Regions from separate parts of the Homo sapiens genome. Here all the other regions are linked to region 3. The links are contacts of gene promoters, found by promoter capture Hi-C in blood cells and fetal thymus (Javierre and others, 2016). All regions are on one chromosome and are shown on one strand. Each heading gives the region's core, a stretch centred on a gene start or on the middle of the fragment in contact. The rest is flanking DNA. Distances are from core to core; before and after follow the strand shown.

Region 1 (3,322 bases), core at 594-3,093, 700 kb after region 3:
TTACCTCAACACTAAACCAACTTCTAAGTTTGAGTATTGTGTTTTCATGGCCCACTTTGCCCCAACCTCTCATTTTTCTCAAACCTTTTTTTTTTTTTTGGCCCTGCAGCCTCCGATCTCAGATTGTCCCCTACAGGCCACTTAGGTCTGACATTGCTTTGCCTCAGCTTTCTTGTAGTTCTCCTCTTATTTGTCTTCTCAGGGCCATACCTTCAGATTTAGACTTCCTACTCAGCATGGGAAGCATGGACACAGCCTCACTTGCTACGGCACCTTACTATGCTAGGCATTGGCTGCCATACTTGATTGTATTAGCTCCTGTCTTCCTTTCCCTCTTAGCACAGAGTAACTTAGGTGTGTGCACCTATCAGGTAAGGAAAGTAGCAGGCAGAGTCATGGAAGCCAGAACATCAATTGCTGAATTGAGGCTGTACCATGGCCTGTCTCTGTGAATATTGTGGCAAGATATATACCCACCCAAAAAAAGCACTGAAAAACCTTCATAAGGGAGATGTATAGGGTGAGACACACGAAATGCATTCAAAAGGTAGTCTGGACTTGCCAGAGTCTCAAAGTCCTCTTTGAGGGAATTGGGAGAGGAACTAGAAGGAATCGTTGAGAACACACATGTGTTCTGATCTTTGCCCATTTTAGGGTCACCCACTAGTAAACTGTATGGATGTTCACAAAGAGGAGATGTATTTCTTCCATAAAAAAGCGAGAATGCTAAAGTGTCACCAAGTCTTTCCCCTTCTGAATGCTGTCAGCTGCTAGATGTCCTGCTACCAGCAGAGAAAATGCCTAGTGTGTCCACCTCACCAGAGTCCTGGACAGAGCAGGGTTTGCTACCAACTATGTCCCACCTGTGCCGGTCCTGTGGGCAGCAGGAATCAGGCTACCATGGAAATTCTGCTTGTGACCAGCCCTATCAAACTAGAAGCAAATGAGGGCACAGGGCCTTTGATTGTCAGCTGCCCCACAGCTGGGGATCAGTTACCTATGTAGCCCTGCACCAGGTCCTTCAGGAGACCACATTGTACCTACGGTTCATCTTCCCAGCAGCCCTCCATGTCAATTCCCAGAAGGGGCTTGAGCCTTTGTTGCCCATCACTTACCCCAGCACTTCTCCAGCTGTGGGACAGAGTCAAGCCTCGACTTAGTGCAGGCTCCTCAGCCACATCTGACCTCCCCTTCCAGACAGCATTCAGCTCTGCTAAGAAATCAGGCAACCATCAAGCTTGGAGTTTTGCCAGGAGAAATTCAGAGAATTTCTCATACGAGTGAATTATAATGCTGGATAAACCACTCCTCCATCTGAAATATCCAGTCCTGAAGACAGAATTAGCTGATTATCATGATTACTTTCATTTTTTGTTTTTAAATCTTCTTTTCCCAGCTCAGCACCCTGCCCAGTCTCCCTTTGTCTCTAGGGTGGTACTTCAAGTCCCACCACACCCTACGACAGGGTTAATCCACACCCCTTGCACCCTAGAGCCGACAGAAATATCAGTGGTGAATTCTTGACTTGGATCCATAGCTATTATTTAATAAGCAATATCACAGAAAATGAGTCAAAAATCTGATATAATTACTCCTTGAAATTCCCACTGCAGCTGGTGCCAACAAGGTGTCACATTACAATTCAACAATCCAGTCTTTCATGGCTCTCACTGTGTCCCAGCACTGCCCTCCATGCTCTGCAAGTGATACCTCATTTTGTTATTGAAACACTAGGGTTTCGGTCTAGGTTCTGCTGCTCACTGCACAGAAAGCCAATCACTGATAGAACAAGTATTGCCAGGGAAGAAGGCTTTAATCAGGTGCTACAGCTGAGGAGATGGGAGCTTAGTCTCAAATCCATCTCCCTGGCTGACTAAAATTAGGGGTTTATATAGCAGGGAAAAAATGTATCTACATGCATAAAAACAGGAATTAGGGAGGGGTAAGGAAGAGGAGCTGGTCAACAGGTAGCAGGTGGTCGGTTAGGCAGTCATGATAGGCAAGGGGTCTGACTTCTCATTGCCCAGATGCGGTGATCTGGTACATTTCAGTTACTTGATACTATCTGAGTGGCCTGACTGATGGTTTCCTGGGAAAGGAACTCAGATAAGACAAATGTCAGTTTCTCAAGTTTCAAGATGGGGAATGTCAATTTCTATGCTTATTCAAAATAATCTATAAACATCAGTTCTATGGAGCAATTGGGTCAGTTTCAAATTACACCACATGCAATTCTGTTGGGGGAATATGATGAGTATCCCTATATCATGGATGAGGAAACTGAGGCACAAAGGCATTCGATACTTGCTCAAAGTCACACTGCTATGGAGCAGTAAAGCTAGAACATGCCTGGCAGTCTGGTTAAAGAGGCTGTGCCTTTAACCATCATACCACACTGCCCTGTATCCAAAAGACACACCCAACCCCAAGGAAGAAGGGGAGAAGCTTCAGAAAAAAACACTTTAAATGTGAAATGGATTTCCTCAGAGGTACCAATGGGAAAATTACATTTTCAGACACACAGCAAAAATTCTAAAAGAAACTTTATTATCCCCAAATCTTACATACTTTGACAGCTACTCTTCTCTAAAATCTCCCTTCTCTGATTCATTTCTAATTTCTCTCTAAAATCTGTAGACCAACTGGCTCTCCAGGCCCTGTCTTCTCCCATTTCTTTCTTGATACTTTATGGAAAATTTGGACCTGTTTCTTACCATTCGCCTTTTCAGTCATCTTCTTGGTCAACAAAACAAAGCCACCATAAGTATACAAGGTTCTGAGGGGAAAGGCTGTGAAGGCCTCTTTCATACCTTTACATCATAGTCACATTTATGTTAACTGGTTCATTTTAGGTAAGTCAGAACCTAAACACTGCCCATGTGGAATTTCCCCACATCTTTTGAACACACAGGTATGCCCTTGACCTTGGCTGTCACCTCCATGCCAGGAGATGCCAGTGGCTGGCTCTCCCCAGCTCCCACTCCCTCCCAACTCCTCCAAATCCCATCCACAGCCTAAGGCAAGACTGCACCTTTGTCTCTCCCAAGGATACATGGAAAAACAAAATATCTTATTTAAGTTCTGCCTTCAGCTCTGCATTCTGACTTATCTCTTATTGCATCTTCCTATGAAAATCGTAATGGTAGATTATACTGGGAGAATTGACAGTACTGACAGAATCAGTGGAGCCATGGACTTGGATGGGCTGAGTTCTAACAACATCACGATTTTGTACTTAAAACCAAGACTATCAAATCAGCTCTGTGTGGCCCTGTTACCTACCCAAGCCTAACTGCTCTCTGACCTCAGGCTGCACTGCCCC
Region 2 (3,217 bases), core at 172-2,671, 770 kb after region 3:
TATACAGATTGCATTTGCTTTAGCTTTGAGATATTTGTTTTCCAAGTTTTTCCACCAGTTTCAAAATCCACTTTAAAAAAAACTCAGTTCTATTTCAATTATGCTTATTTGCATGGAAACCAAAGCCTTACTGCTCTAATTAATAATATTATGATTGTTCCTTTTATTTGAATACAATGTCCTTGTAACTTAAAGAATAAAGATTCAACCCAGCCAAGCAACTTTAAAAATACATATGGAAATGATCAGTATAATACAATTTCTTTTGGTAATAAGATAAATAAAAGCAAATTCTCCTGTTACAAAACACACAAAAAAATCCACTTTACAAAATACCTTTTTAGCAATTTCTACAAAACAATACTCTAAGATCTTATGACCATGTCATACTAAATGTCTATATATATGATGAGAAGGTATTTCCTGGAATGACTAGTGGGTGGGATAAGCCTAAAAGGATTTCCAAGAAATACAGAAACATAAGGATCCAATAATTTGAAAAAGGATTAAAAATATTCTAAGACTTTCAAAGTGCAAATTACCACGTACAAATTTGGTGGTTATAATAAGCCTTTTCTTTGCAATAAAATGAAAATTTAATAGAAAACGTATAGGAAGTGCAACTATTGAGTTGTGAAACTTTTGTTTCAGTTTTACTTTTCATATGCGGGCATGTAAATATGAGTGTACAGGCTGGGTACGATGGCTCAAACCTGTAATCCCAGCATTTGAGGAGGCCAACGCAGGTGGATCACTTGAGCCCAGTAGTTCAAGACCAGCCTGGGCAACATGATGAAACCCCATCTCTACAAAAAGTACAAAAATGAGCTGGGCATAGTGGCATATACTTGTAGTCCCAGCTACTCAGGAGGCTCAGGTGGGAGGATTGCTTGAGCCTGGGAAGCAGAGGTTGAAGTGAGCTGAGATCATGCCATTGCACTCCAGCCTGGGTGACAGACCAAGACCTTCTCTTAAAAAAAAAAAAAAAGAGGTTATAAGAGTGTGTGTGTGTCCTGAGTCATGAGTCATGGTCATGAAAGAAAATGTATTTGTTACTGTGGACTAAGGTCAAAAGTTTAAAAACCACTAACCCAATTGATCCATTGACCAGATGGAGTTTTGAAGGACTGATATTTTAGAGACTTCTGAAAATAATAATAGACTTTGTCATCAGACAGCTGGGTTCAACTCTCAACAAGTAACTCAATCTACCTAAATCTTGGTGTCACATTTGTAAAATGAAAATAATAGTAACACCTCACAAGTTTGTTTTGACATTAAAAAAAGATAATGTATGTGAGGTGTTTAGCACAGTGCCTGGCATATGATAATCAACAAATCTTGGCTATCATTTTCTAGAACTGCTGGAGAGCTTCTTTGTCTCTGATTAAAACATACCCCCTTCAAGGTGTATTCATTTCCTCTGAGTGACATCTGTCACCTCTTTAATGAGTTTTTTACCTTTTGTCCATGTTCAGTTGCTCCTCCAGACAGCCAAGGACCAGAGGCAGAATTCAGTGACCAACACTAAACATGAGAAAGAGCAGCCTCTCAGCAGTCCATGTGCATACTGATCCCCTGCTTAGCTTCAGACTCCATGTCAGTCGAGGTGAAGAAATAAAAAGGAGGTGAAACTGGCCCAATTGTCCCATAGAATTGATGTATGGTTTCTTTTGAATAAACACAGAAATTGAACCTTCCAGTCTTAAAACTTCAGAAGTTTACTTTTGTTTTATCGGAGTTCCTTTTTCAGGAAATCAACCATCAGTCCTGCCAAATAGTATCAAGGAACTGAAACTCACTAGATCACAGTATCTGGACAATGAGATGCCAGACCCCTCACCTGTCATAACTGCCTAATCAACCACCCACTGCCTGTTGACCAGCTCCTCTTCCTTACCTCTCACACACGGTTACATTTCTTTCTCCACTATATAAACCCCTAATTTTAGTTGTTGGGGAGACACATTTGAGACCGATTTCCCATCTCCTTGGCTGAAACACCCGATTAAAACTTTCTTCCCTGGTAATACTCATTGCCTCAGTGATTGACTTTCTGTGTAGTGAGCAACAGGACCTACACTGAACCCCTCGTGTTTCAGTAACAAAGGGTCACACATCCCTGTACCTCCATCTTATGCTACTTTTTTTTTTTTTTTTTGAGACGGTGTCTTACTCTGTCGCCCAGGCTACAGTGCAGTGGTGCAACCCTGGCTCACTGCAACCTCTGCCTCCTGGGTTCAAGCGATTCTTATGCCTCAGCCACTACAGTAGCTAGGATTATAGGTGTGCACCACCACACCTGGCCAACTTTCATATTTTTAGTAGAGACGGGGTTTCACCATGTTGGCCAGGCTGGTCTCGAACTCCTGACCTCAAGTGATCCTCCCGCCTCAGCCTCCCAAAGTGCTGGGATTATAGGCCTGAGCCACCGCACCTGGCCTATGCCACTTTCAAATAAAAATGCTAACATAACTAGGGAGATTCTGGGCCATCTTGGAATTCTTCATGACTCCTGGATCCTTTGTTTCTGTCACACTTGTCGTCTTCCGTATGGTTTACTTAGGCATAGAATGGGGAAAAGGAGATTCTAGAGAAGAAAAAAAATGCTAAGTTTAAATACTGATGAATCCTGGAATAATGAGGTTTAGGGTGGCTCAAACATGAAAAAATATATATAGGGATATGCAAGATATTCCACTGAAAATACCATATAGAGAAACATAAAGCAAGCTAAGGGTTCTGAGCTTTATAGTGTAATAAAAAACACAGGCAACAATTGCTGAGTCCTTCCTCACCACACATGATGCCCGGTGCCTTACACATATGAACTCAATTGACACTCACAACATCTATGGGGTAGGTTTTCTGGTAATCCTCAATTTTTGCATGAGATTTTTCAAGAAGCTCTTATTAAATGGTGAAGCTAGGATTCACAACTCCTGGCTATCTGACTCTGGGGTCGATACTCTTCAGGTTCTAGTGTCTTCCATGGGTCAGAGGGGGCCACCGGAAGCTTTTTTATTTATTTATTTTATTTTTTGAGACGGAGTCTTGCTCTGTCACCCAGGCTGGAGTGCAGTGGTGTGATCTCGGCTCATCGCAAACTCTGCCTCCTGGATTCATGCCATTCTCCTGCCTCACCCTCCCATGTAGCTGGGACTACAGGCGCCCGCCACCACGCCTGGCTAATTTTTTGTATTTTTAGTAGAGACGA
Region 3 (3,406 bases), core at 18-2,517:
CGAGAGGGGAGGGGACAGAAGAGGGGCTGCGTGGAGAAAGAGTTAGAAGCCCCCAAATGGGCGCCGCCGGATACCTCGTCTGCTCCGAGCCCGGCTCCCGGGGGTCCTCGGTCGGCAGGCAACTCGGGTCTTTTTGTTACCCCAAAGCAGTCGGCGATGTGCAGAATCGCCGCACTTTTAGTTACTCTGTGTGTGTGTCCCCGGCGTGGATCTGGATGAGTACCCGGGCTGCTAAGGTGCGGAGCTGCAGCGCCAGGGCTCCCGACGCGACCCCCAGGCCGGCTTCCGAATCGCAGACGGGGCGGAGGAGCCCGCGGTAGTTTGTGCAGTCTTCGGGGAGCTCACGGCGGCGACTCAGTCCCAACGCGTTAGAAGCCAAACAAAAAGAGAAAGGAAACAAGCACGGGTCTACCGGCTGGCGACGCACGGCAGCCAGAATCCGCGCTGCACCCCCTTTTTTTGGTGGAAAGGGTGGGGGGCGTGTAAGGGGGGGGTGCGGGAGAGGGCAGTTACCTACGTTTTAACTGTAGATGGCGTCTGAGGCTTTTCCAAGATCGCGAGCTCTCCAAAAATTAAACAAACAAACAAAAAAAAGAAAAATTGCAAGGGAGCATTTAACTTGGTGCGGTCAGCGCTGCCAACAAAAGATTGCAAAAGCTGGGCACAGAGTTGCGGCGCGGGCTGGGCGCAGGTACCGCGACAAAGCCCTGGGCTCGGCCCGCCGCGCGGAGGTCAGCACAGGCTCATGCTGTCGCCGCTCGCTCGCGCCCCAGGTCTTCCTCCGAATGCAGCCAGACGTGCAGGAGAGAACGAGGACAGATCGGCGGTCTCCGATTTCGCCGGCACGAGCTTGCGGGGGTCCTGCGGGCGCTGCAAGGGGAGCTGCGTCCCTGGCCCTTCCAACGCGCGGCGTTCCTTTGCCCCTTTCCCGCTGGAGAACTGGATCTCGTCCTGGAATAATTTGCAATCACCCCGTCTCCCCCTACCCCGAGACCAAATTGCCCGGTGGGGTTTGTTTTGGAGAAAATTGACGGCTTGTCTCCTCCTTCTTTGATTTCTTGCTTGCCCCCCCCAGAGAAAAGAGGGGACCGTGTATTTAAAAATTAAAGGGGACGGCCGACGGTGCCCGAGGCCAATCCCCGCGCTCAGCACGCCCGCATCCCCCGGCGAGGCGGTATTAATAGTTACTTACGTGGCCGGGGATCTCGGAGCGAGCGGGGCCGTGAGTGCGCGTGTGCGCGCGCGCGCCTCGCTCGCGCTCGGTCTCCCCATTCAATGTCACCGACACATTTCCACGGAGCCTCCGCCCCCCCCCCGCCGCCCCCGCGACTGGCTCAGCCCAGAGCCGGCCCCGCCCCGCCCCCGCCCGGGCCCCCCTCATTGCGCCGGGCGCCCATCAATCAGCCCCGCCGCTGCCAGTCCTCGGGCGGCTCCCCGCGCCGCTGCCATTGCAGCTCCGTGCCGGGGGCGCCAGCACCGGCCTCGCAGCTCCCTCGCCCGGCCGGGGAGGTAAACAAAGTGAAATATCCTTCCGCGGCCCGGGGCCCCGGGCGCAGCACCCTGGGTGTCGGCTGCGAGCCGGCTGCGAGCCCAGCTGCGGGCGGCTGGGCCGGGGTTACCAGCAGCGACTCCCGAGCCGTTCCCCACACGCTGCTCCCGCAGCGCCCGCTCCAGCTCTTCGTAGCTCGTTCATGTTCCTGGCGCTTTTCCCCAGAAAGCCAGGCACGCTCTGAGCATTGGGCCCCCAGGCTCAGATGTGGCCCTGAATGAGGAGCTCTGTTTTGGAAGAATGCGCTTTCATCGGTATTGCTGCCTGGAGTTTCGAGAATTCGTTTCATGGTATCTCTCCGACATCCTCCTCTCCATTTAAAAGGAAATCCATTGCTTCCTTTTAGTTGGTGTCACCGCTTGCCCCCGATCCCCACATCCTGGGCTTGTATTTCTAGTGTTTTCAGCAGAAGAGGAACTGAAGGCATCTTTTGATTCAGGTCAAATTTAATCACTAATTCTTCCCTTCCCAGTGCATTGCCTGGAGGGCCTTGGAGGCCAAGCTAGACAAAACTTTGCACCCACACCTCCAGGGAGCGCTGTTGGGTCCTATCCAGGGTGCTGGGCGTCCTGAGTCCTCTTCTGTTAGCCAGGTGAAGGCTGCAGTTTCACGCCCCACTCCACCCCCCATTTCGCCACCCCCCCCGAATTATTCGTAACTTCCTTGGGAGATTCCAGTCCGCGGGCTTGGACAGGAACACCGGAAGCAAGGGGCTTGAACTCAGGCAGAGGCTTCAAACGCCAGCCTTGATCTAAGATATCCTGGTGAATGAGAAGCGATCTAGTAGAGGACAAACTTAAAAAAAAAAATCCCAAGGAACTGAGAAAGGGGAGTTGGGACGACTCCTGGAGCCCTCTGAGCTTTTGCATGCGTGTAGTATATTTTCCACTGGAGGAGGGGACTAAATTATTGTCCACTGTAGGACACTTTCAGTAAAAGAAGGGAGCTATTTATAATTATGTCCACTTGGGACAACAGTCACTCTAATGATCAGGAGTCCTGGGAATGTGGCCAGAGATGGAGAGGACATTGACTATAAAGCTTCCACCCAGCAGCACAGAGTTAAAAGGAAGGTTAAGAAGTGGACCCGTGCCTTCCAGCACCTCTCACCATCCTACTCCCCACAAACCTGCCTAGGATTCAGTCCCAGATCCCAGCAGAATAGATCTATTTCCCTAGGCGATCACCAGGACCACTGACCGAGCAGGGTCCCCTAATCCAGTCTTACCCCAGGAAGACACTTGGCCTGTGTTAGGAACAGTCTCGAAGCAACCCCTGCTGTTGAGTCAGAAAGAGAGGTGCCTAGCCTCCTCTATGCAGTGGCCAAGAGAGCTTTGTAATAATTAGGGGTTGGGACACCTGTGTGCTAGCCCTGGCTGGGTCTCTGATTTCAAATGGAAATTGGGTGAAGACCTTGTTTTTTCTCCCTAGATCCCTGTTTCTTCATCTGTAAGATGAGAAGCATAATACCCGCCCTGCTCACCTCATGTGGTTGCTTTAGAATTATATTTTCAATTCCAGGAAATCTATGAAGGCTTACTATAAGCCGGGCTCTGTGCTGAGTGTTAGGGATCCAATATGAGTAAGATCTGGTCTCTGCCACCCAAGAGCGCAGGGTCTAGCCCGGCAGAAAGACTGGGAAACAAATAATGTCATTGTGTAACAATGTGGCAATTAGAATATCAAGGCCTCAAGGGAGCATGGAGGAGGGAATGACTTTTCCTGAACGTCAGGGAGTTTTCCCAGAAAATGTGATTTTTATTACCTTGAACTAATCCAGAGCAAATATTTATTGAAACCTACTATGTGCCAGACACTGGATATGAAGATACAATGATTTGAAAAATATATTTCCTG
Region 4 (3,225 bases), core at 205-2,704, 800 kb after region 3:
TTGGGGAGATGTGCTCTAAACTCCAGAAATATTCTGCCCAATAAGAGTGTTTCATATGCCTGAGACTTTGTGTCATGCTGTATTAGTTTGACTAGATAAGTTTATCCAGACACTGATTTATGGTAAATGCCCTGAATGCCTGCTTTTCCTTGGGGACAGGCAGGTGGTGGGGAGGGGTGGTGTCTAGAATCTGAGAAGCTGAGGTCAGTCGCATTAGGTGCTGCATGACTATGAAACTGACCCACAAGAAAAGCCTTGGACACCAAGACTCAGCAGAGCCTCCCTGGTTGGGCACACTCCATGCGTGTCGTCACATGTTGATACTCAGAAATTAGATGTCCCAGCCGGGCGCAGTGGCTCACGCCTGTAATCCCAGCACTTTGGGAGGCTGAGGAGGGTGGATCACTTGAGGTCAGGAGTTCAAGGCCAGCCTGGCCAACATGGTAAACCCTGTTTCTACTAAAAATAGAAAAAAATTAGCCAGGCATGGTGGCATGTGCCTGTAATCCCAGCTACTCAGGAAGCTGAGGCAGGAGAATCGCTTGAACCCGGGAGGTGGAGGTTGCAGTGAGCTGAGACCGTGCCACTGCATTTCAGCCTGGGCAAAAAAAAGCATGACTCCATCTCAAAAAAAAAAGAAAAAAGAAAGAAAAGAAAAGGAGAAGAGAAAGAAAAAAAAGAAAAAGAGAAAAGAAAGAAATTAGACATCCCTATAAAACTCCCCTGGGAGGATTTCCCTGAGTGCTTCTGCCTTATTTTTCCTAGACTTTACTCCACACCCCTTTCCCTTTGCTGACTTTCATCTTTGATCTGCAGCCTTTCCCTGCAATAAAGTATAACTGAATATAACAGCCTCTGAGTCCTGTCCATTCTTCTAGCACATCACCAAGTTCATTTTGAAGAAAATCAACAAGATGGGACGAAAATGCATCACATAACTATAATAAGAAACTTAGATGGCATTGGAACAGAAGGATGAATGGAATGGACCAGGGACCCTGACGATCTCTCTTCTCCCACACATTGCACATTTTTCAAGCCTCCACATTTCCTTCAGTTGAACCTTCATTTTGCAATGTACTACTTCTACTATTGAGCTTCTGCTAATTCTTACGTTCTATTCAAGTGGCACTTGTTTTATGAAACTTTCCCCAGCTTCAAGGAAAAGGAATTGCTCCCTACTCAAAGCTCCCATAGAAATTTGTTCTGGCCTCAGCACTAATCACATTGAAGCAATGTTGTACAGCCTGTATTTATCTGTCTTCTCTCCCGCTAAACTGTGGGTCCCAGAGGGCTCAGTCAGTACCTGATTCATCCCTGTCTCCCTGGCACACACCACAACATAGAGGACCCAGTAGATGTTAAATAAATGTATGGTGAATGAGTAAAATATGAATAATGATGAAAACTCAAGTGTTGGGAGGTAAGTAAATTGTAGTGTTCAATAGGAACTATGGAAAAGGATAACAAAACCTGAGATTTACATTTGGGATAAATAATGTGTCATCCAATGAAAAATTTCAGGATTTATTCGATTTCACTTACACACACCCACAAAATGAAGGCATCATAAAGACCAGACTAATAATTACAGAAGATATGTGTAGAGTTTGCCAATTTGTTATAGTGATTGAAGAGTGTCTCCAAATAAATATGTTTTTTCAGGAAGATCCTTCATGGTGAACTGCAAACAAGCCTTGAAAGTTAAACTATGAAAACTGGGTAGTTTTATTGAGTCACAGTCTGATATGAAACTTCCATTCATGATGGAATCCATTCATCTGCCTCTAGATATAGTTTTTTACTTAATTTTAAAGACTCTTGCTTCAAATCTAGGCACTGTAAAACCACATTACTTCATGCACATTAATTAGAAGAACTTTCTTTTAAAAGATAGAGATTAAAGGAGAATCTCTCCTTTGCATTATTTATAGATAAAATATTTGCTAATCAAATGAATACTAGTAATGCTATTACAGGAAGAACTCAAAACCCTAAGTAATCTCCCATTTTCTTTCTCACTCTGAGTGTACTCTACCTGCGTTACGGAATATGGTAGCTACTAGTAATATACGGCTAAGAATCACTTGAAATGGGGCTAGTACTATAAAGGAATTAAATTTTCCATTTTATTTCATTTCAATAGCCACATTGAAAAGTAGCTAGTGGCTACCATCTTAGATAATGATATAGAAAATTTCCATCATCTAATGAAAGATATACTAGATCGTGTTGGCTTATACTCTAGATGTCCAAAATTCAGTAAGTATCAATGAAATTAACAAACAATGACAAGTGTGTGGTTTATCAAAATATAAACTCTGACACTGAGCTATAAAAGATGAAGGGTGGTCCTTATCTTCAAGGAGGCAGATGTGTAAATAGCGAAAATAGTGAATCATCCCTAATGCAGGAAGGCAGAAAAATTACATGAGGGAGCTAGTAGATCAAAGAAAGCTCTAGCAGAGACGTGATATTTGAACCAATTCATAGAGTAAAGAAAAATTTAGACAACAAATGGGGCGGGGTTAGGGAGCCCTTAAGCCAAGGGAACCCCTGTGTATAAAGGACAGAAAGGCACTGTGAAGGGCCATGGCATCTGGTTGGCAGCACATGGATTAGAGAGGCCAGAAGGGAAAGATGATAGTGTAGCAAGGAGGCATGAAGACCTCGTAGATCAGGGAGCTTACAACAGTCCCTTGGGAAGATAGGGAATTGTATTGGGTTTTAATTGAGCAACGATATGGAACATAGGATCTGTGTTATATAAATGTCATAATGGCTAGGCACAGTGGTTCATGCCTGTAATCCCAACACTTTCGGAGGTGAGTGGATTTCTTGAATCCAGGAGTTTGAGACCAGTCTGAGCAACATAGTGAGACCCCATCTCTACAAAAATAAATACAAAACTTAGCTGGGCATGGTGGCACACACTTGTACTCCCAGCTACGAGGGAGGCTGAGGTGGGAGGATAGATAGAGTCCAGGAGGTCCAGGCTGCAGTGAGCCATGATTATGCCACTGCACTCCAACCTGGGTGACAGGGCAAGACCCTGTCTCAAATAAATAGGTCATAATGGCTGCTGAGGGAGAAATGGAGAGAATGGAGATAGATCAGAGATGAGGAGGCCAAGGAGGACATTGAGGCCAACAAGCAGAAGAGAAGCGACCATGCTGAGCCAGGACAGAGGAGGTGAGGCTCGAGAGGAAGCAAGCAACGCAACAG
Region 5 (3,574 bases), core at 502-3,001, 970 kb after region 3:
GTCTCAAAAAAAAAAAAAAAATGGCCTTGGAACAGCTCAAAAGAAAAAATGGACAAAACATATAGACAGTTCACATTTGGCCAATAATATATGAGAGAGATATTCAACCCCATTCATAATTAAAGATACAGGAATCGAAAGAGGCCTTTCAGATGGTCCAAAATCAAAGCATTTCATTAAAACCCCAGGGCCCATGAAAAGTAGGAGAATCAGACATCGTCACTCACTACTAACAGGGTCATAAATGGGGTAAGCAATGTGGCAATGCCCATCTTTTGGGGCACCTATTGGCAAACCCTAGCAACTATACCGCTGGGAACTGATTGTACAAATACAGTAAGATCCGTGTACAAAAACAGTAACTGTAGCATTAATTGTAATAGGGAAAATCAGAAATAACTTAATATCTGTATGACTCTGGCTTAATAAATTATGGGCCATCCACATTGTAAAATGGAATATTATGAGGCTGATAATAAAATGGTAGAGAGGTAGCTCCATAAATATTAACATGAAAATGTATATATAGAATGAAAACAGGTACAAAAATACTTATAATATGGACCCATTGTGGTTTTTTGTTTGTTTGTTTTGTTTTGTTTTGAGACGGAGTTTCGCTGTGTTACTCAGGCTGGAGGGCAGTGGCGCAATCTCGGCTCACTGCAAGCTCCGCCTCCCAGGTTCACGCCAATCTCCTGCCTCAGCCTCCCGAGTAGCTGGGACTACAGGCGCCTGCCACCAGCCTGGCTAATTTTTTTGTATTTTTAGTAGAGACGGGGTTTCACCATGTTAGCCAGGATGGTCTTGATCTCCTGACCTCGTAATCCACCCATCTCGGCCTCCGAAAGTGCTGGGATTACAGGCGTGAGCCACCGCGCCCAGCTGGACCCATTTTTAAAAAATTACATTTGTACATATTTTGATATGCATAAAAAAATTCTGGAATGAGATACATACAAAACAAGATTCACAAGATTCACCCCTGGGGACCAGCCTGGGAAAAGGAGGAAGAGATCTTCACTTTTTATCATAAATACTTCCCATAGTGTTGCTTTCTAGCTTGTGTTTTTTATGTCTGCATGTATTTCATGTCAATTATTAGTAACCTCAGAGAACTGGGAGTGAAGGATGGAAAACTCTGGTCCACTCAGTCTCAGGGTCTCCATCACTGAAACCACTGAGACAGGACAGGGTGCTGGACAGGGGTACTCCTGCTTTGGAGGGAAGGTCAGATGAGTGATCACTCAGCTCCTCCAGCGCTGACACTTTGCAACCCTCAGATACCACAACCCCAGGTGACGCTTGTTCTCACGTTCCTGCCAAGAAATACAAATGGCCTGGATAAAGGTGGGTGTAGACATCTAAATATGGTATGACAACTATGCTGAGCAAAACAGCCCAAGGCTTTGACTCCGATCCTTTGGCTCTTAATTATTTAGCTCACTGATTAAGGACAGGACGTTCTTTTCCTTCAAAGACCCAATGGCACATTCTCTCTACGCACTTTCAAGAGCCCTCTGTCCAAATTCGTGTCTTGGTCAAAAAGAATGCTCTGCCCTTATAACTTTATTTCTGTATTACCCCCCACCCCTACCACACCCCAGCAATTGGGAGGTGGGCATATATCACCTGGGTGTTCCAGGGCACTATTAGGAGACAATATAGCTCAGCAGGTAAGAGCGCAGGCTCTGGAGGTATTCAAATCCTGCCTCCACCTTCCACTAACTCTGTGATCAAAGACAGGTTACTAAGCTCTCTGCACTGCAGTTTCGCATCTATTTTATAAAAAGGGATGACATCAGCACAGCCACCTCATAGGACTGTTGTGAGGCAGTAAATGTAAAGTACTTTTCAAAGCACATGCACCAAATAAAAACCACGTGCTAATTCTGTGACCACAAACTGGTTCCAGACAAAATCCGGTCTTTGAATAACGTCTCTTGCCAGAGGGGACTTTGTATATATCACCTATTTAAATAGTACCTTCCCAAAAAGACAGAGGCAAAGAATATTACTAGTTAAAATGAATACAGAACTATTTGAAGGCTATGCCTACATTCCACATTCTCATTTGCCCAAAATCTGAGCCCAAAGAGGCCACCCCGAGACTGGTGGCATTCTGGCATTGCACAGAGTCCAATGGTGGGACATTGTTTTGCCAGAACAGTTGTCTGGGCGCCTGTCTTGTCTGGTGCCCATTATCCTAAAACCCTTGTTGCTTGTCTCCTGTCTTGTAAACTGAAGACCTACAGCCTAGTGAGATCCATGAACGCGGAGGACGACTTCATCAAAAAGTGAGTGTGTGTGGCTAGGGGACAGAGGGCAAGGGGAGAGGTGCGAGGGCTTCCAGGGAGCGAGGCCGGGGAGGGGAGGGGGGCACAAGTGCGTGCCAGCAGGCAAATGGGGGTGTTGGTTGTGTCTCCCATGCAGGGTCTGTGGTCAACTTTGTGAGCCAATGCAAATCAGCTCACACTCAGGAACAAACAGGCCTCCTTACAGAGCAAAGTGCCTGTTCTAACAGCCTATGGCTATTTCTGGAAAGCCCCAGCATTCAGCATCAGCCGAAAATTTTAAGTTGTTGCAAGAATCACAACATTTGGTCAGTGGGTTGAAAAATCCACTGTAACCATGACCCTGTAGCCATGACCACCGGTGTGAAAATGCTTCTGGCTTCTCTCCTGATGGAGCCCAGTCCATCTGGTTCCTCCCAACCTCTCAGCTGGGAGTGGGAGCGGCACAACGCGCCCTGCATCCCTCAGTGTGCAGAACAGCCTGTGGGCCAGACACTGCTGAGGTTTTAAGACTCCTGGGCCACATACCTCATTGTGAAAAGTGTCAGCCTGGGTCTGGGTCAGCCCAGACCCAGAGCTTTCTACAGGCAGAAACTCACTACTCAACATATCCCTGGCTGCACAGACCCCACCCCAACCCCAGCTGCTAAGGGCTTGTTGGGGTGAATTACAGGTAGGGAGACAGACAGGGGAAAGCTGTGGAAAGAGGAAGAGGAAGGGAACCCACAGGAAGGGAGGTCAGGGCACTTGCTTCGGACCCCAGCAGCCCCAGGGCCCAGTGTGGCCTCCTAGGGGGCACAGATTCCCTTCAGGCGCTGGTGCATCCTCTGATCAAGGAGCAGGGCCAGTGTGGGTGTGTCCCCTCGACACACAGGCATGGGCCCCTCTCTCTCTCCAGACCCTCCCTCACAGCTCAGAAAGCGAACATTTCAGAAACAGCCATCCGATAGGCACCTGGGCCTCTTCTGAATGAAGAACCTGTGACGTCACTGAACGGCTTTGCTTGGGTTTTGTCCCAACTCTTTTTTCCCCACACACCCCGTTCCAGTTTTAAATGAGTGGGCTTATTATACAATACATTGGTCCAGGGTTCAATAAAGTGTCAAAATTGTGACTTTGCCCTTCTCAAGGAACAAGCCCCAAAGCTGCTAGTGGGTGATTCCAGGGACTTCCTCCTCAGGACCCCTCAAAAGCTCCAAGATCCCACGCCCGGGCTACCAGTGAGGAAGTGCAAGTGCAAACAGGTCGAACCACCAGCCTCGGTGTCCTGGCGGGACCTAACA
Region 6 (3,319 bases), core at 820-3,319, 930 kb after region 3:
CCGCCTGCCTTGGCCTCCCAAAGTGCTGAGTTTACAGGCGCCAGCCACTGCGCCCAGCCGATAATGAAGTTTTTCAAAAGGGTAGAGATGTAGGCTACTCTGACATACCCATGTACTGCAGAGTGTGACTATTCACATTCAATAAGAACATCGAGCTGGGTGTAGTGGCTCACACCTGAAATCCCAGCACTTTGCGAGGCGGAGGTGGGAAGATCTCTTAAGCCCACAAGTTCAAGGCTACAGTGAGCTACAACTGCACCACTGCACTCCAGCCTGGGAGACAGAGCTACACCTTGTCGCAAAAAAAAAAAAAAAAAAAAGAAAAAGAAAAGAAAAGAAAACTCACAAGACTGAGAGCTATCTGAACCTATCAGCTATATTGCCAATTCTATTGGCATGGAACCCTGACCACAGTGAAGATAATGCAATAATGCAATGTAGCAAAGTCTTTATTTTATATATTTCTAAGGCTTAATGTCTAGGTCTATTTGAAAACATGAAACAGAAACAGTATCATGCTACTGCCAAAGTGACTTTCAAGAGGTACTTACTTACTCCCAATCTTTACCACGAGATTGGGGTCATCGATAATAGCGGGGTTGTCCACAAACTGTTGATATGACACAGCTTGCTCCAGGAATGCATCTGTGACAGCAATTGCAGAGGATCAGGGAAAAACAAAAAGAAAATTCAGTTCAAAATTAGGCCTACCTTTCATTTGCTCACTCACAAGTGTTTTCTGAGAGTTTGTGCATTCCAACTGTGCAGACAATCCTATAAAATGTATTTGTAAAGGCCGCACCATTTTACCTGGAAGGCGGCGTCTGTGCAGCAATGCAGGGAGGCCAGGGCAAGGCTGAGGATGTTGGGGGACGTGTACCTTAGTTGAGGCACATACGTTCACACAGGGAGTAGGGGTGAAAACAGCACACACGTGCATCTGCACAGGCAGAGTCATGGCTACGCATGGCGCAGAAGCCAGGCTCCCTCGGCTGAAGTCACGATTACGGGGGTAACCCTGGGCAAGCGGTTCACCTCCCAGGCCCCAGTTCCCTCCTCTAGCATGGGGATAATAACCACATCTGCTTCCTAGGGTGGTCATGGGGACTGATAATGTCGTAAATAGAAAGCACAGGGCCCTTTCAAAAATGGGGCTGCCTCCACCACAATCAGAAGCAGGCAGGGCACTGTTCTCATCATGGTGGGGCAGCCCCACCAGGATCAGAGCAAAGGAGAAGGTGGCAGGGTCAGGAGGCCCAGACCTCAGCCCCGGACCCTCAGTTCTTTGACGGGCTCTGGCAGCTGGGCTGTACCTTAAGCCTTGACCGCGGTTCTGACCATCTCCCTGGCCCAGAGCCACGCCCACTCCTTCCCTGGGAGCTCCTATTTACCCTGAACCGAACCGAAACCCAGCAGACATCAGACACTGAGAATCTCCTCCGTCCAGGAAAAGAGTCCCTGGGTCTTGATGCCAGCCTGACTGGCTTCAACATGCACCCTCAGAGCCCTAATCAGGACCTCCGGGGACTCTCCTGGGGTCTCCTGACTGTGACGATCTGGCCTCACCTGTAAGGACTGGACAGCTGCAGATCCTGGCCCCATGAGATAACACTCAGATAACGGTGCCCAGCCTTGTCAGTGCTGCCACCCCACCCCCACCAGCTCATGTATATCAGGGAGGGAACGCCCAGGGGACTCCTCACGCCAGTGTCCAGAGAGCCCCCATGACTTCAGAAACACAGTGAGGCTGGGTATTAATGTGTGGCCCTAGGAAAACTGAGTGAATGAATGGAGCCGGCGGGACCCAGCACACAATCTTGTTTCCGCTCTCAAGGGACTGGCTGGCACGGGCGTGAGAACAAAAAGGTCTCAATCTTTGCGGAAGAAAAAATTCCCAAAGCCTTGAAGGGACCAGGGTGGAGGCAGGAGTCTCACATGGCAGCCCTGGTTGGAAGGGGAGATGGGGGTGGCTCCTGAGAGGTAGAGGGAAGAAGTACACAGCCTCGGCCCCTTCCCTGCTAGAAATACCACGAGGGGATGGAAAAGAGGCAGTGGTGAGAGAGGGGGCGGGAGGGGTGCAGGGCCACTGTGTCTAGTCCCCAGCTGATAACTGCTGACTGCACCCACTGGGGGGCGTGGGCACACCCTGCCATGGAACTGTCAGGAGGCCCTGGGAGTGCATTGCTACGAATGTGGCAGGTGCTGTGAATGAATCACCTAAGCCCACCCGATTAACGCCCTTTGAATCCAGCTGGGAAAAGTTCCCAGCCCTCCTCCGACAAACTCAGACCTCCCTGTTCCAAGGCGCCGGCGCACTTCTCTCTCGCTGCCGACACCCTCTAATTTAATTAGACTGACACCCCCTCTAGCCTGCAGGCCTCTGGAGGCCATCTCTGCAGTGCTAGCCTGGGGCACAGGAGACACACAACGATGGCCCGAGCCATGGGTGACCCACAGAACTCTGAGGCCGACTAACTGCAAGCCAGAAACATCGGGATTATGAGTTCGGTGCTATCATCTGTGCTATCATTAACCGCAACCAAGGGAAAAGCTGCCTTGACACGCACTCCTTGGAGAAGCCTAAGCCTCTGCGCCTTCTGACCGGCGGCCACCAGAGGGCGCCCGCGCGAGGCCCGCGGTACCTTTCGTGATCTCCCGGTGGTCGCTGAGGCCCCCGCAGAGGGAGATGGCGATGGAAGGGAGGTCCCTCAGCCCGTCCGAGGTGCTCTCCACGCCACTGTCCACGCCCGAGCTGCCCACCGACTGCGGGGACTGGTTGGCTGACCGGGCTCCGTTGTCGCTTGCATGTTTTGCGAGTCCGGAAGGATCTCCGCTGGAAGGAGGAAAAGCGGCAGAGACCGGCTGAGGACTGTCCCAGTTCAGGGTCCTACATCACCATCCAGTGATGCTCTGGCACGCGGCCACCCTCAGAGCCGCAGACGGCTGCATCTCAGCACAGATGTTTATTAAAGCACCACGACAAGGAAAGAGACATTAAACGCCTTAGCTTAGGAGAGAAAACCATTACTTCTCAGCTGGCTGCATCTCCCTGTATCCCCCTAAAATATACTGAAGAAGAAGCAAGCTGTCCTCCCTGTTCCCTGCCCTTCCCCTCCAGGCGCCAGCCCTGCCCTAGATCGCAGGGGGACTGAGGGTGGGTCCCCAGGATCACGGGAGACCCTCCTGGGGGAAAAAAGGGCTGCACAGCTGCCACTTACTGGGCTGTGGACCACGACCACTGTGGACAACATGACCTCAGGCTTTGCAGGGAGGGCAGCCCGGTGCTGCGCCCCTGTCCAGAGGTGGGGCGCCGCCCAGT
Region 7 (3,060 bases), core at 376-2,875, 910 kb after region 3:
ACTGTTGGCAATAGGGGAAAAAGTGGCAACTACCTACACGTTCATCAATAGAGGGCGAGTTAAAGAAAGTATGGTGTATCTAGACGACAGGATTCTGCCCAGTAGCAAAAAGAGTAAGGTAAATATTACATAAAATGAAACAAAAAAGATATGATGAATAATTAAATAATGTGAGTGTATGTGTGTGGGGATGTAAATAAGTTTTTGAAATTCAGCAAGATAGAACCAAACTGTTCATAGTAGTTCTACTTTTAAGGAAGGGAATAGCTTGCAGCAAGGGCAGGCAGGAGGGTGATACAACCTCTGCGCTTTACTGTTTCCATAATCTCAGCCTCTTTTATTAGTATTTTTATGTCTTAAGAAGTATGCATAACTTTTGTATTAATAATTTTTTAAAGATGAAATCTAGAAAAGTAAAGTCAAACCAATGAGCTTGGGCATCTAAGATGACATCTGAAGCTTTTTTAATGTACATACTTATTTTTTTAGAGAGATGGGGGGGAATCTCACTATGTTGCCCAGGCTGGATTCGAACTCCTGGGTTCAAGCAATCCTCCCGCCTCAGCCTCCCAAATAGCTGGGACTATCGACATGTGCCCAACAAAATCTGAAGCTTTTAATCCCACCAGGATTAAGGTTCTCTCTCCAAGCCGCCATTTTTCTACTGGATCATAAAGTCCCAGGTCAGAGACTTACCTAGTTCATAGCAATCCCAGGCACCTGCCCTAGGATGAGGCACTAACAGGCACTCAAGGAATGCTGGATGGATGAACGGATGCAGGGCAGGGAAATACAGTTCATTCATCTGTGTTCACAGAGTTCTAGAAACAGCTCTGGATGGTGGCCCATTCCCTACCATCACCACTGTGGGCTAGAGATGAGCAAACAAGGTTGGGAACCATGGGCCTGACACTTCCGTCTTGACACTATCTTGACACTCACTAAGTGTGAATGTAACTTGCTCACCCACCTCACCCACGGAGAGACCGCACTGTCCTGATTCAGGCAGAGGCACCTTCCAGCTCTAACTGGCTGGAGAACAGAATGCTGTGGAGGGGGAGATTTCACTCGCATGGGAGACTCTAGGCCACAAAAGGCTGGAGGAGGCATGACTGAGCGGGAGAGAGGCTTGGGCCTGGCAAGCTAGAATGGGGGTGTTTCGGAAGGGGCGGGGCATGGAGAATCCCTGCAGGGCTCTGAACCCTGGAGGCAGACGAGAGCAATGAGAATTTGGATAAATCACTTTAGTTCTCCTAGTTAATTTCACTCATCTAAATACAGAAATGATATTATGTGCTTTTCAGAATCTCTGTAAGATATAAGTGAAGTAACCCATGTACCCAGCACAGGAGAGCAGTCGGAGAACCCCTCTCCCATCTGATGTCTGGGGCTGAGGGTCCCACGGTGGGCACTGTTCTGTTTTGGGCCACTTGCTGGAGCACTCCACAGACCAGGTAGACATGATGTGCCCTGCTGGTTGGCTCGCAGGGTCTGCAACGCCGCCAAAACTTGCCTGGAATCTGCAACTTTTTAGTCTACAGAAAATCACTTGGCATATATAACATATAAGCTCCTATTTCTTCAACTGGCTACCTCTGCCATCCCTCGGGATGAACTAAACCTCAGTCTCACCCCTAATGCTGCCACCATCTGTGTTCTCCTAGTAATCAATTCCCCTATACTTCGCCCCTTGTTTCTTGGTATTGAATTCAAATTTGGAGTTGCTGGGATTCACTTTCACTCTGGACTCCACTGCTACCCCTGACCCCCACTGCCCCTCCCTGGTTGAGGTGCAGCCCTCTCTGCAAGTCACCCCGTGCTGGGACAGGAAAGATTCCATATGCAGAGTGCGGTGCACACACCAGCGTTCACAGGAGGCGGGAAACAGGAACTCTGTACTCACTGGCTCACTTTATGGTACAGCTTAGCGATGCCCTGATGGGTCCAATCCTTCCCAAGGGTGGGCAAAATGTGGCCAAGAGTATCTGATCTAAATGAAGAGGAAAAGAGAAAAATAAAGTAAAAATCCCTTTCAGATTCATTGCACCATTCATGCCTCATAAAAAAAAAAAAAAAACACAAACAAGACCCACAACTTTCTTTCTGGATAGAAAGCCCAAGGCTCAAGTCATCAAAGTTGATGCTGACGGAGGGACAGGTAATCCACAGAAGGACGCCTCCAGTCTGATCATGCATCGAGGTGACCGGCTTGTTCAATCAAAGGTAAAGGCCATTCAAAAAGACGTTCTTGAGAAGCCCCCACAGAAGCAACCAAGTCGAAGAGATAATAATACCCCAGAAGGAAACAACTAAGCCCTAAACACAATGATTGCCACCAAGGAGCTGAAACTACGTAAGGAGCTCCAACTGCACCAGAATTCGAACCGTGCAAGTCCCATGAGGAGAGCAGAGGTGCCAACACCAGGCCCAGAGACCCCCACGGTGAAGCAAAGAAATCTACCATGGGCCCCAAGTCAGCAGGACCTACCTGGTAATTGTCCCATCAATATCAGAAATGATGACTTTATCATCCCAGTTCCACAGATAGATGGTGCCCTCACAGCGGCACGTGCCTTGGTACTGCGTGGTGACACTGAAAACCACGTCGTTGGGGCCATTCTTCAACTTCAAGCTTTTCTGAAAAACATGAACCATTAGTATTTGTCTGCTTGAGGGAAAGGCCCTGATTGATGGGCATTTGGCTTCTGTTCTATGAGAAGCAGGATTCGGCTTTAAAAACAAGTGACTGCCCTGGGCCCTTGTATAATTCTTTCTTTCCCCACCCTTCCTTGTTCTGGTTCTTTCCGGGGCTGGACAGGCAAAATGAAACCTCAGCTCTCTCAGGCCCCCTTGTAATGCAACTTGCCTACTTGCTACAGAGTTGTTCTACTTCCCAGGATAGTGCTAATTTGATCAAGTATTTTCAGATTACAGTCATTAGCCAGGATTCAATGACGGGGCTACACGGCGTAATAAATCACAAGTTTGGAATAGGATACACTTACCACTCTAGGACTAAATAGGAAGATCATCATTCAGGGAGACAAATTTAAGCCAAGT

The links. Contacts are between HindIII fragments. The CHiCAGO score rates a contact against its expected background, and 5 or more counts as called.
Region 1: a contact is called between a fragment that was not itself captured here and the fragment with the promoter of TRIB2 in region 3, in 4 of 17 cell types (total B cells, naive B cells, erythroblasts and 1 more). The highest score is 7.4, in total B cells.
Region 2: a fragment that was not itself captured here is called in contact with the fragment with the promoter of TRIB2 in region 3 in 4 of 17 cell types (total B cells, naive B cells, total CD4 T cells and 1 more); the score reaches 7.3 in total B cells.
Region 4: a contact is called between a fragment that was not itself captured here and the fragment with the promoter of TRIB2 in region 3, in 4 of 17 cell types (monocytes, neutrophils, total B cells and 1 more). The highest score is 6.5, in monocytes.
Region 5: a fragment that was not itself captured here is called in contact with the fragment with the promoter of TRIB2 in region 3 in 7 of 17 cell types (naive CD8 T cells, total B cells, fetal thymus and 4 more); the score reaches 9.8 in naive CD8 T cells.
Region 6: a contact is called between a fragment that was not itself captured here and the fragment with the promoter of TRIB2 in region 3, in 1 of 17 cell types (total B cells). The highest score is 5.1, in total B cells.
Region 7: a contact is called between a fragment that was not itself captured here and the fragment with the promoter of TRIB2 in region 3, in 5 of 17 cell types (erythroblasts, total B cells, M0 macrophages and 2 more). The highest score is 7.8, in erythroblasts.

What each region holds. Positions count from the first base shown.
Region 1 is chr2:12,019,785-12,023,106 of GRCh38, reverse strand. The region is part of intron 2 of MIR3681HG (MIR3681 host gene); the gene reads right to left. Among named protein-coding and RNA genes, the nearest start is that of MIR3681HG, 14 kb to the right of the region's middle. The HindIII fragment of the contact is 1,208 bases long and covers 1,240-2,447 here.
Region 2 is chr2:11,943,120-11,946,336 of GRCh38, reverse strand. No RefSeq gene overlaps it. Among named protein-coding and RNA genes, the nearest start is that of MIR3681HG, 62 kb to the left of the region's middle. The HindIII fragment of the contact is 3,195 bases long and covers 1-3,018 here.
Region 3 is chr2:12,714,797-12,718,202 of GRCh38, reverse strand. It overlaps TRIB2 (tribbles pseudokinase 2), which reads right to left and starts at 1,267. Exons shown (of 3, transcript NM_021643.4): 1 at 1-1,267. It overlaps LOC124905974 (a long non-coding RNA gene), which reads left to right and starts at 1,445. Exons shown (of 2, transcript XR_007086222.1): 1 at 1,445-3,406. RefSeq lists enhancers at 800-869, 718-1,357 and silencers at 1,310-1,369, 1,460-1,679. The HindIII fragment of the contact is 5,863 bases long and covers 1-2,592 here.
Region 4 is chr2:11,915,011-11,918,235 of GRCh38, reverse strand. No RefSeq gene overlaps it. Among named protein-coding and RNA genes, the nearest start is that of MIR4262, 80 kb to the right of the region's middle. The HindIII fragment of the contact is 5,197 bases long and covers 1-3,225 here.
Region 5 is chr2:11,748,881-11,752,454 of GRCh38, reverse strand. The region is part of intron 1 of LPIN1 (lipin 1); the gene reads right to left. Among named protein-coding and RNA genes, the nearest start is that of LPIN1, 4.0 kb to the right of the region's middle. RefSeq lists a silencer at 2,278-2,337 and enhancers at 2,798-2,847, 2,868-3,127. The HindIII fragment of the contact is 6,273 bases long and covers 1-3,574 here.
Region 6 is chr2:11,784,400-11,787,718 of GRCh38, reverse strand. LPIN1 (lipin 1) reads right to left here. Exons shown (of 21, transcript NM_001349206.2): 10 at 2,643-2,833; 11 at 552-645. Among named protein-coding and RNA genes, the nearest start is that of MIR548S, 19 kb to the right of the region's middle. RefSeq lists a silencer at 2,702-2,996. The HindIII fragment of the contact is 4,737 bases long and covers 1-3,319 here.
Region 7 is chr2:11,804,000-11,807,059 of GRCh38, reverse strand. LPIN1 (lipin 1) reads right to left here. Exons shown (of 21, transcript NM_001349206.2): 16 at 2,489-2,637; 17 at 1,904-1,990. Among named protein-coding and RNA genes, the nearest start is that of MIR4262, 31 kb to the left of the region's middle. The HindIII fragment of the contact is 2,019 bases long and covers 616-2,634 here.